Regions from separate parts of the Homo sapiens genome. Here region 2 is linked to region 1. The links are contacts of gene promoters, found by promoter capture Hi-C in human tissues and cell types (Jung and others, 2019). All regions are on one chromosome and are shown on one strand. Each heading gives the region's core, a stretch centred on a gene start or on the middle of the fragment in contact. The rest is flanking DNA. Distances are from core to core; before and after follow the strand shown.

The links. Contacts are between HindIII fragments. The study calls those that stand out against the background at their distance.
Region 2: a contact is called between a fragment that was not itself captured here and the fragment with the promoter of BRINP1 in region 1, in 2 of the 25 tissues and cell types used here (H1 embryonic stem cells and stomach).

Annotation. Positions count from the first base shown.
Region 1 is chr9:119,366,221-119,371,589 of GRCh38, reverse strand. BRINP1 (BMP/retinoic acid inducible neural specific 1) reads left to right here and starts at 2,155. Exons shown (of 8, transcript NM_014618.3): 1 at 2,155-2,534. RefSeq lists enhancers at 1,191-1,711, 1,712-2,234, 2,235-2,756. The HindIII fragment of the contact is 11,628 bases long and covers 1-5,369 here.
Region 2 is chr9:119,443,031-119,448,399 of GRCh38, reverse strand. The region is part of intron 1 of LOC105376250 (a long non-coding RNA gene); the gene reads left to right. Among named protein-coding and RNA genes, the nearest start is that of BRINP1, 76 kb to the right of the region's middle. The HindIII fragment of the contact is 4,247 bases long and covers 1-4,164 here.

The DNA.
Region 1 (5,369 bases), core at 906-3,405:
GGTGAGGAAGAGAAAGACTGGACAGTATTCCAAAGCATTAAGTCCCCACTTTCTAAGGTATGTAGACCACAACCCATCTTGGGAGATTGATTACAAGGAAAGGGTTAAGAAGAATCAGTCAGAACTTTGGTCTTCACCTGAAGTTGCCTGACTACGTTGTCTCAGATTGATTTCAGAACTGCATTATCAGCAGGGCAGCTGTTGCCTACTAACAGTCATGGAAGTAGATCTCAGCTGGGGGATGATGGGGAAACAAAGAGAAAGATAGGGACGAATAAAGGAAGGAATGGGGCACAGACAGAAAGAGAGAGAGAGAAAAGAAAGAAAGGAGGAGAGGCAAGAGATAGTGACCTGGGGTTTCATACCGCGGTGGGTGGGAGAAGGAGTGTGTGTGGTGGGCGTATTTCTTCGTGGTCAGAATCAAAGTCAGAACTGACCTGGGGAACCTGTGTTCAAGACCTGAACCTGGACCAGAAGCCAAGGGAAAGAGAAAGTTGCCCAAGAAAAAAGGGAGAAATTTCCACCAGGCGAAAATAGAAATCGCTGACTGGGTTTGTGGCTGGAGAGCTGTCCGTGGTGCTGACTCCTCCTCATTGGGATTCCAGTGAAGGCTGAGAAGCTCTGCACTGGCTGCTCCTCCTCTCCCTTTCCTCTCCCCTCAGTCCTGACCTTCTGAGACCCAGGATCATTCTGGCTAGCTCGATGTCTTCTCCTCTCTTTCTCCCTTTCTCTTTGTCGATTAAATAATTTTTCCCGAGTTCCCAGTTCATCACTCAAACATTTCTCTTCCATTTTGTTTCAAGACTCCTCTTCCTCCAATTAGTTCACTGGCTCCTAGATTGTTCTAGGCCTCCCTGGTGGTCACATCTCTCTCTTATCATCCTTTGAATTAAAAAACAAACAAAAAACATACAATGGCAATCATAAAAGCAGACAACATGCACTGAGCACTCACTAGGTGTCAGGGAGCAGTCTAAGTGCCTTTGCATACATTAACTCATGAGCAGTCTAAGTGCCTTTGCATATATTAACTCATTACAATTCCACATCAACCCTATTAGATGGGTAGATATATTATTATTCTATTAAACAGACAAGGAATTGAGGCTTAAGGGGTAAGTGATTTCACCAAGACCAGACAGCTACAGGACTCCAACCTCTCTGGAGCCTGCACTTCTACTGAATCTGGCTCTTTTACATATTCCAACACCTTTTCCTATGACTTCCTGCCCCTCCATCTGGTAGCCTTAATGCTTTCTATTCTTGCCTAATCTTCAGGGGACTAGGGATCTGCATTGCTGATTTGGTTTAAATCAGAAGGGAAGCAAAGTAAACAAACATACCAAATGTGCGCTGTGTGGGAATTATCATACGAGGGCTTTATTTTCTGCTTCAGGAAGAGGCCCTATGTTAGCAGCCCCAGCCTGCATTCAGGCTGATTGCAGAGTATTTTGCTTTTTATTTTCATGTCTTAGTCCCTGTACCCTCGCCCCTTCCCCGCCTCTGGTGGTCTCCAGAGAACTTCGTGTCCCCTCAGCTTCTCCCTCCTACATCCTGCCTACGTAGAGAAGCTCTTGCTTCATTCTGGGAGGTTACGTGGGCTCTCGCCTACACACCGAGAGAAACAAACAGTGTCAAACACTCACAGAGAGACGCGCAGACACAAACGGACCCACACGGGCAACTCCCGAGACAAAACCCACACTCGATGGATCCACGCGGCCGTGGAAACACCTGCCGCCCCAGAAACACTCAGGTACTCGCGACACACACAGTACAGTCACGCTTAAGGGCACCAGGATTCCGGGTTTGCGCGTATGCGCGGTCCCTTTGGATGCTCGTGCGCATAGACACAACACCCTACACGCCCCAGACCCACGAAACTCCCTACGGCTCAGCCCCAGCCCACCCGGGCCGCCCTTCCCTCGAGGCGGCCTCCCGTCTCTCCTCCTCTCGCTTCTCCTCCTCCTCCGCCTAAAGATGTACAAAACACTCCTCGGAAGCAACCCCGGCGTTCAGCTCCTCCCTCCCCGCCCCCCGGCCGCCGCTCCCCCATTCATTTTCGGCCGTCGCCGGCTAAGTCCCTCCCCCGGCGTAGCCCGGCCTCCGCCGCTCCCCGCCCGGAGACCGCGGCGCACTTGGACTTCCCTCTCCATTCGCCAGCCGCCTCGCTCCCGGACCCCACGGCTGCAAACTGATCTGGCGCGCGGGGAGGAGGAGAGCGCAGGCGAGCGAACCCGCGAGAGAGGGAGAGAGCGAGCGAGCAACAGCGAGAGCGAGAGCGAGAGAGCCGGGAGGCAGAGGGAGTAGTGACCGCCTTCCGGAGCCGGGATTCATGCCTGTCCTCGGGACCAGCGAAGGGGACTTTACGGCTGAGTATGAGCCAGGCTGCTAGGAGCCAGGTACCCCCACGCCTGCAGTCCCCGCGCCGTGCCCGGAATGCGAGCTGCACGCAGGGCTCTCCCAAGTTCCCACCGAGCCGAATAAAAAGCGTCCTCCCGCAGCTCTCCGCCAAAGACGGACATTGACTCCAGGTAAGGCGGCGCCGGGTGCAGCGCCCCGCAGCCCCGCTGCCCTTGGACCCGGCCCCGGGCCGCATTCGGGGCGTCCCCGCGCTCCTCTGCCCCTCCCCCTACCGGCACCCTTGTCCGCTCTTCACCTGGCCGCCCCGCCGCCTCCAAGTCTTCTCCAGTTCTAGGGAGGGGGTTCCTGTGCCTGGGGCTCAAAGGGCTAATTGCGGGTTTGAGTGAGTGGCGTGTGTGTCCCCGCGCGCTCCCGACGTGTGCACCATGGTGGGAACTTGATGTGGTGCTAGTGTGTTTGCGTGTGCGGCGTCGTTTGCGTTTGATGCGTGTGTTCGTGGTGTGTGTGTGTGTCCGTGTGTGTAAGGGAGGGGTGAAGAGAGAGAGGTCCTATAACCTACTTACGGCGCGATGTGTGTGTGCATGTTTGTACGTATGTGTTTGTATGTGTGCCCTCGTGTGTCTTTTTAATTAGGTCTCTCCAGCTTACACGGAATGGGACCCTTACTATAGGATCACGTAGTCACCGGGAAACCCGCTGTGGACTTCCTCTTGGGGCTCTGGGCTTGGGGTTTGGGGAGGATTATGGGGCTGTAGATGGCACCTTATTTAGCCCAATGTTGGTACGCTTGAAGGAAAATTCCTCCAAACGGTGGAATCCTGCTACACTGGGACCCACAGCTTAATATGAAAGAGACATGGCCAACCCCCGAGGCAAATGAGACGCTGTCACTTTAAATTCTACACTGGGCAGACTCCAAGATTCTGATGGGAATTTGGAGACACTGGATAGTGGGTGACAGAGAAAGGGGGAAGTCAGCGGTGGGCTCCTTATCTGGGGCTTGGAAAGTCTGGGATAGGGATTTACCCTGCATCCCCGTTTGCAATCAACAGAGCCCCTCCGGCTTCTGTTGGTTTTGGGGAGGATCTGGCAAGTTTGCATGGATCCCCCTCAGGGGAAAGGAGAAAGCGTCCTCGGGGACTTGCTCATCCATCACAGTTGCAAAGGGTCTCAGAGGAAATTTCATCTGGGGCGGCTGTGGATGATATGGAAGGAGATGGATGGGGCACTTTCCTAAGACAGATTCGTCTTTCTTTCCCCATTTCAGGCGGGGAAGCCCCCAGAGAGTCTCTCCCTAAATATGCCTCTCCATGGCTCCCCTGGAGTTAGGGGGATATTGAGAGAAGGCAGAGAGGTGGAGAGGGAGAGAGAGAGAGCAAGAGCGAGAGAGAGGGAGACAGAGAGAGAGAGTGTTTCAGTACTGAGGGAGATCTACAATTTGAAAAGGGGCTGTGAGTGTGGAACCCATGACAGAATGTGGCAGTAATTGACTTAAACTGCTGTCGGTTTGCACCTCGCGTCTCTCACTTGGCTCCAAAATACTGCCAAGGGCAGGGGGGCGGTGGAGGAATCTCAGCCAGGAAGGTAGTTTGGGTCAAGGCCCTCTTTCTTCTTTCCTCCATCTCCTGGGAGGCTCTTTAGGTAGGTCCCTTGGCCACCCTGGCTTGGTACTGTTGGGCTTGGGCTCTGGGGCCAGCCATTGATTTGATTCCCAGCTGCCTCTTAAAGGCTTGCCCTACTCAGCAAAAATGCTGAGTTTTACTGCTGTTAGCATGGCTTCCAGACTCGGCAGCTGTTACTTTCTCAAGGTAAGCGGCAGCCGTTCTGCTCTCAGGCAGGGAGGCTAGGAGAAGACAAGGGCTGTGACGCTGGGACACAGCCTCTTGTCTAGCTCAGCACGGAGGGGCCGCTGAAAAGCCCTCTTAGGGGAAAAAAGTAGAAATATATTTGGCCTAAAAAATGTACACATATATTCTAGGAAGATATATATATATATATATATATCAATCACACACACACACACACACACACATGTGTTCATATTCTGGGGAGAGATAAAAGCAAACATGTATTTGTAGGAACCTGCCCTAGTGGGTGGGTTCTACCTGCAGGCACTTGCAGACATACCATTCTCTGTCCAGAGGCTGATACCTCAGGCTGAAGCCTTCACATAGCCACAGAGAATCTCCTTCAGGAAACTCATGTCAGGGCAGAGCTCCCTGGATTATCTTGGGTAGGGGGTACTAGGGCCAAGGAGGAGACCCATTTTTGGGAACTGCCTCATTTTCTCTCTTTCCTAATTCACAGACGATCGAAACTGGAAGGAATATTAAAGAGCAGAAAGGCAGGACTCTGTGGCCTAAAGAGGGAATGAGAATTCCCCAACATTCAGTAGTGGGTTAGTGGCATGCCCAGGACTAGAATCTAGGCTTATCAATCAGCTAGATCAATACCCTTTCCACTCCTCCCAGCAATATACACTCTAGGACTGTATATTGCTCCCACCCCTATCTTGCCAACCTGCCACCATGACCCCTACCAAGACAATCGCTTGTCTTCCCTCATCAAACTTCACATTTTCAGAGATGCATTTCAGGGTTTTTCTATCTGGAAACATGGCCCTGAAGAGAAAAGATCCAATGCCTCAATCACTATTCCCGAAAGACACACACACACACACACACACACACACACACACACACACACACACACACACACACACGGTGGTGGGGGGAGGACTGAGAGAGAGACAGAGAGAGAACATAGATTCCTTCTCCAATGTCTTTAGGGAATTACCGACAAGCAAGGACCCAGTACTGAGTGTGACTGGTAGGCAGAACCCAGCAAAGTGTCTGGTCTGTATCTAAGATTTTTATTAAGGAATGCACTGGTTTCCAGAGAGCAAAATGTACACCCATCTACCAGTGCAAATACTTCAGGCAAATTAATTTCTTTATATTAATTAGAATCTCACCCCTAGACATTAATACATATTACAGGCACAG
Region 2 (5,369 bases), core at 792-3,291, 77 kb before region 1:
AACCAGCCAGTCCTCCCAGAATGTGAAACGATGGCCTCAGAGCAAGCTAAAGAGACAGCTCTAAGAAGTTGGAATGGCTTTACCCTCAGTGGCAGGGAGCTAAATATTTCATCTTCATAAAATAAACATAGATCATCTCATCATGAAATATACATAAAAATGTTTAAACATGTTAATTATTAAACCAATATTGATTCATATTGGATGAGGCATTAAGGGAAATTTAGATAATGTATTTAATATCTCCTCCACAGTTGACTAGTATCAGAATTCATCATATCTAACCACCAATAATCATAAAAGTGGCAGACAATATTTATGATCAGGGGTGAGTGAGTACCAGACAGGAAGCAATGAGGACGGAGGAAATATGAGGATCTAAAGGACAGAGCCTTTCAGTTGTCACAGCTCATCCTTGGAATTTCAGACATAAATCACTGGGTGCAGTCACATCATCAAAGTTTGATAAACCTTTCATATTGGGACAGTTATTGAATATCATTTGGACCTGGCTTCCTTCTCAAAAATGAAATGGCATGGCTGATGCAATGTAAAGAGAGAAAGAGAATTGGAGCAGAGCTTTGAAATCCTGGATTTGAATTCTATCTCACTGATTTTTACAGCCTTAGGTTCTATTTACTCGTCTGCAAAATGGGGTAATAATATTTGTGGGTGGCATTTTATTCTCATCGTTATATATGTTTTAATCTTACCTCACCAAATGGATCTCAAATCTCTAGGAGTAGAAGTTTTTGCCTTTTGTGTTTTTTTCTTCTGTGTCCTGATAACAATTTATTTCGTTATTTTAGTTATTAAAAGCCCTGCCGTGGAATTAGAAAAATCTGGATTTGAATTCTGAATCTTGAGCAAGTTTCTTTGTGCCTCAAGTTCCCCGTCCTTATAACAATTCACCTGCCTCATGGGTTCACTGTGATTATAACCTGACACAATGTGTGTAAAGTGTTAAGAATGTAGCATACAGGACATGGTAGGTACCTGGTGGCTGTTAGTATCCTCTTAGAGCAGTGACAGCGAACTAAGCTTATAATTATTCAATGAAATTTCAACAGGCTGTTTTTATCAGTAATTTATGAACTTTGAACACGGGATGTAATTTTAAATATCAGTCCCTGTGGATAACTGTGGAATCATGCAAACTAGCTTCTAGCCCAGACACTGCCTCTATTGGGGCCAAATCTTGAGAAGAAACTCGGCTTGTTGTGCCTCCAAGTTTAGTGTCCTTCCACCTCCCCCCAGGTTCTAGTGCTTGGAAGGAAGAATTTCTCTCTGATGTGAAGACATTCTTGGGAAGAGCTAGTTCGAGTCCCTTCTCTGCCATCGATTCAATCTCTGAGACTCAATTTCCTCATCTGTAAAAGAGAGATCAAAATATCTAACTCACTACTTCATTTTGAGTATAAAAGAAACTTAAAAAAAACACAGACACATTTTGCCAATTTAGATATATTAGCTATTATATTTTCCAAATTTTGAGATATACTTTTTTATTTAACATTTCTGAAATTGGAATATCTTACAATTGACATGTACATTAATGTAGTGCTTCTCTCTTTTTCTCAAGGAGCTCTTATTAAATCAGTAGCATGTCTTATCATTGGAAATGTCTTTAAATCAAGACAGAATGATATTATTATCCATCTCACCATAATTGTATAGACCCTCCTAAGAAACAGCAGTGCTTCCCCCTAGATCAACTATTCTGGGGTCAGGTAGTTGCTAGTAAGTGAAAAAAGTCAGTGAGACCTAGATGTATTCTCTTATTTTCTTCTGCAATAAAGTATATTGACTTACTGTGGGGGTATTCCTCAGCTAAGATGTGGGGAAAATGTCAGACACATGGATATTTCCCAAGAACATATTCCTGAGATGCATTTTTGCATCCAGGAAAAGTTGATGAGAAATGGTTTGTGTATCAGGACCCATCAAACTCTGAGACTGAAAACCTCTCCAGCAGTATTTCTTGGCTACCAGATGTTATACAGCTGCATTGCAAATTGTTATCTGAGCTCAAAAGGGAAGAAAAGAGAGGACTGTTGAAGCCGTGAAGGGACATGACACAGTAAATCGTGCATTTAATTTCAACTTAATGTGAGAGATAGCATGCATTAGATAAATATTGTCTGATCATTAAAAACATATTTATGGAAGTTTAGCAACTTTGTTGGGGATGTGTGACTAATAATACAGAATTGTGAGGCCTCGGAAACATATTTGTCTTAATCGATTGGTGTTTAGTTTGGATTATTGACTGTTAAATCAAAATAAAAGTTTTCAGTTGAGGTTTTGCATTTCATTCATGACAGATTTGTCTTCATCCACATACTCATATTGGATACCAAGTTTGCCCATAAAAAAGCCCACTCTAACAGAATCATAGAATTTCTCTGTTGGAAAAGTTCTTAGAAATCCAATCTCCTTCCAGCTTTTTTCCGTGTAAGTGCATTTTATCTGCTTTGAATTACAACTATATTTTCTGAATAGATGTAGTGTTACTATTTTGAGGAAAATGTTGAAAAGAAAACAGATCATCTGTATTCCTTTCACTATACCATTCCCTTCCATTTCATTTTCTGTATATCTCTGTAGGTTTTGTACATAGTGATAATTGTGGTATATGGGTAAGTTATTTCTAAACCTTCTTCTTCATTGTTACTACATAGTTTTCATGATTGCTAGGTTTAATAACATAATACTAGAATAACCTAATACTAGAAAATGGCTGTGCTGGCTGGGCATGGTGGCTCATGCCTGTAATCCCAGCATGTTGGGAGGCTGAGGTGAGCAAATCACTTGAGGTCAGGAGTTCGAGACCAGCCTTGCCAACATGGCGAAACCCTGTCTCTACTAAAAATACAAAGAATAGCCAGGTGTGGTGGTGTACATCTGCAGCTCAGCTACTTGGGAGGCTGAGGCACGAGAATCCCTTGAACCTGAGATGGAAGGCAGAGGCTGCAGTGAGCTGAGATTGTGCCACCACACTCCAGCCTGGGTGACAGAGCAAGACCCTGTCTCAAGAAAAGGAAAGGAAAGGAAAGGAAAAGGAAAGGAAAGGAAAGGAAAGGAAAGGAAAGGAAAGGAAAGGAAAGGAAAGGAATGGAAAGGAAAGGGAGGGGAGGGGAGGGGAGGGGAGGGGAGAGGGGGAGGGGGAGGGGGAAGGGGGAGGGGAAGGGAAGGACTGTGCTATGACATACTGAACTATTTTCTTTCTGCTATTGAGACTTTTAAGTTGTGTCTGGTGGAGGCAGACTGCCTAAGTTATAATCTTGTTTCTACCCACTTATCAGCAATATGACCTTGGATAAGTACCTTAATGTTTCTGTATCTCAACTTCCTTATTGGTAAGACGGGGATAATATTAGTATCACTGCATAGAGTAGTTGTGAAGATTAACCCGTGTTAAGCATTTGAAACTGACACACAATGGACACCTGGTAAGTGTTAGTTATTATGTTGATAAATAAGTCAGCTGTAATTATTATGGATATTCTTCCCTAAAATGTTGAAACATGTTTTTCTTAAAGATGATACCCAAGCCATTTTCATAAAATTTCATAGAAATTGTGACTTAGACCCTTTTTGAACATTTCCAAAGTCAAATAATCAATTACCTACCTAGACAGGTTATTTTACTATGGGATGGCTTTAATCATTGGGAGTCTTTTCATGTTTAATCTAAATGAAGCTTCCAGTGAATCCCATGCAATAACTAGGTTCTATGCCTGTAATCATGCAAATTTTTTCAATACATTGAATCTCAAAGCATGTTCCCCAGGACGCTAGTCATCCCCAAATTCAAGCCATTCAAGTTGCATTGATTCCACCTTTAAAATGTTTTGAAACCATTCTCTCTTTTCTATTTTCATCACCACCACCCAGGTTAAGCCCTCATCCCTCCAGCCCTGGTTACAACAAGAGCCTCCTAGTTGGCTTCTACATCTGCCTTTGGCACATAGCCACCAGACTGGTCTGATACAAAAGCTAATATGATCACACAGTGTGTCCGTGAATGGCCCAGGCTACCTCTAGTGACCATGTTCCTACCTCTGCAAGTAGAGAACTATGGTCTTAAGGACGTTGGCTTTGATTTTAGAAGAAAAAAAACTAAAAAAGCACGTGAAATACTCTACAGTTTGCACAAAACCATGAAGATAAATCTTTCAATTATGCAATTAGAGACTAGGATGCCGAAAGAGATGTTAAATAGATCCTTTCAAGGTAAAGTGTTACATGATTAAAGTTATATTATTTTTCCCAAAAAGGCAAACACAGGGAGCACCAACATGGCAAAAAAAAAAAAAAAAAAGCATACAATGATGTGGGGGTTTATAAATAACTTCAGGAAAGAATTTGCTGCAATAATTTTATTTGTATATTTATGTGTGTGTGTATATATGTTTGCATATGTGCATATATATGTGTATTTGTGTGTATATGTTTTCCCCTTTTTAGGTGCTCTTATTTATACTTATAAAAATAGTATACACTCATGTTTAATTGATGAAAATGTTTTCAAATGTCCTGTCCTTATGTCCTGCCAGTCTCTAGAGTAGGAAAGCAATATTGTTGTTCTAGGATAACAAATAAGAGGCTCAGAGAAGAGAAGCTTGCCTATATAAGTTAAATGGGGAGATCAAGACTAGACTCTGAAAACACAGAGGCAGAGAGAAATAGGGCAATAAGGTCAGATTCCAAAGTCAGAGAGATCTGGGTCTGTATCATACATATGCAAAACCATAGGCCTCAGACAAAGCTCTTTAACCCTTCTGACTAGTTTCCTCATCTGTACAATTAGAGCTCAATGCCTGCTTTTTAGGACACTTGTAAAGATTAAATCAGATAATGTCTGTGAGGCACTTGGCCCAGAATCTAGCATCTACTGGCTGGCTCAGTACGTGAGCTTTTTCCTTCCCACCATCCTGGCCCCTTTCTCTTTTTCTTCTGGCTCCACTTTCCAAAACAACTCAACTGAGATGATGTAATGCTTCAATTGCCTGACCCAGGCCTGCTGTGGGATCGTGGCCACTGGCCTTGCTTGATAAAAGCACTACATAAATATGCCTCCTGGAAATGCTGACATGACCCCAGTTACCGTCAGGTGACACCTTTGGAGGAAAAGAAATGGATGTTTTGGTCCCAGCCTGTAACTCTAGAGAGAACTGGCCATCGGCCCAGCTTCATAGTTGGGCATCTCTGGACTCACAGGTGTTAGTTAAACCCAAGGTACATTACATCCCATCCACAGATTAAAGCTCGTTCTGGATGGATATGCCCTTTAGTCCACCTGTAGTTCTTTCCATCTCACCCCTCTTCGTATGTTGGGCATGTTCAGAGATATGTGGAAAGAGCAG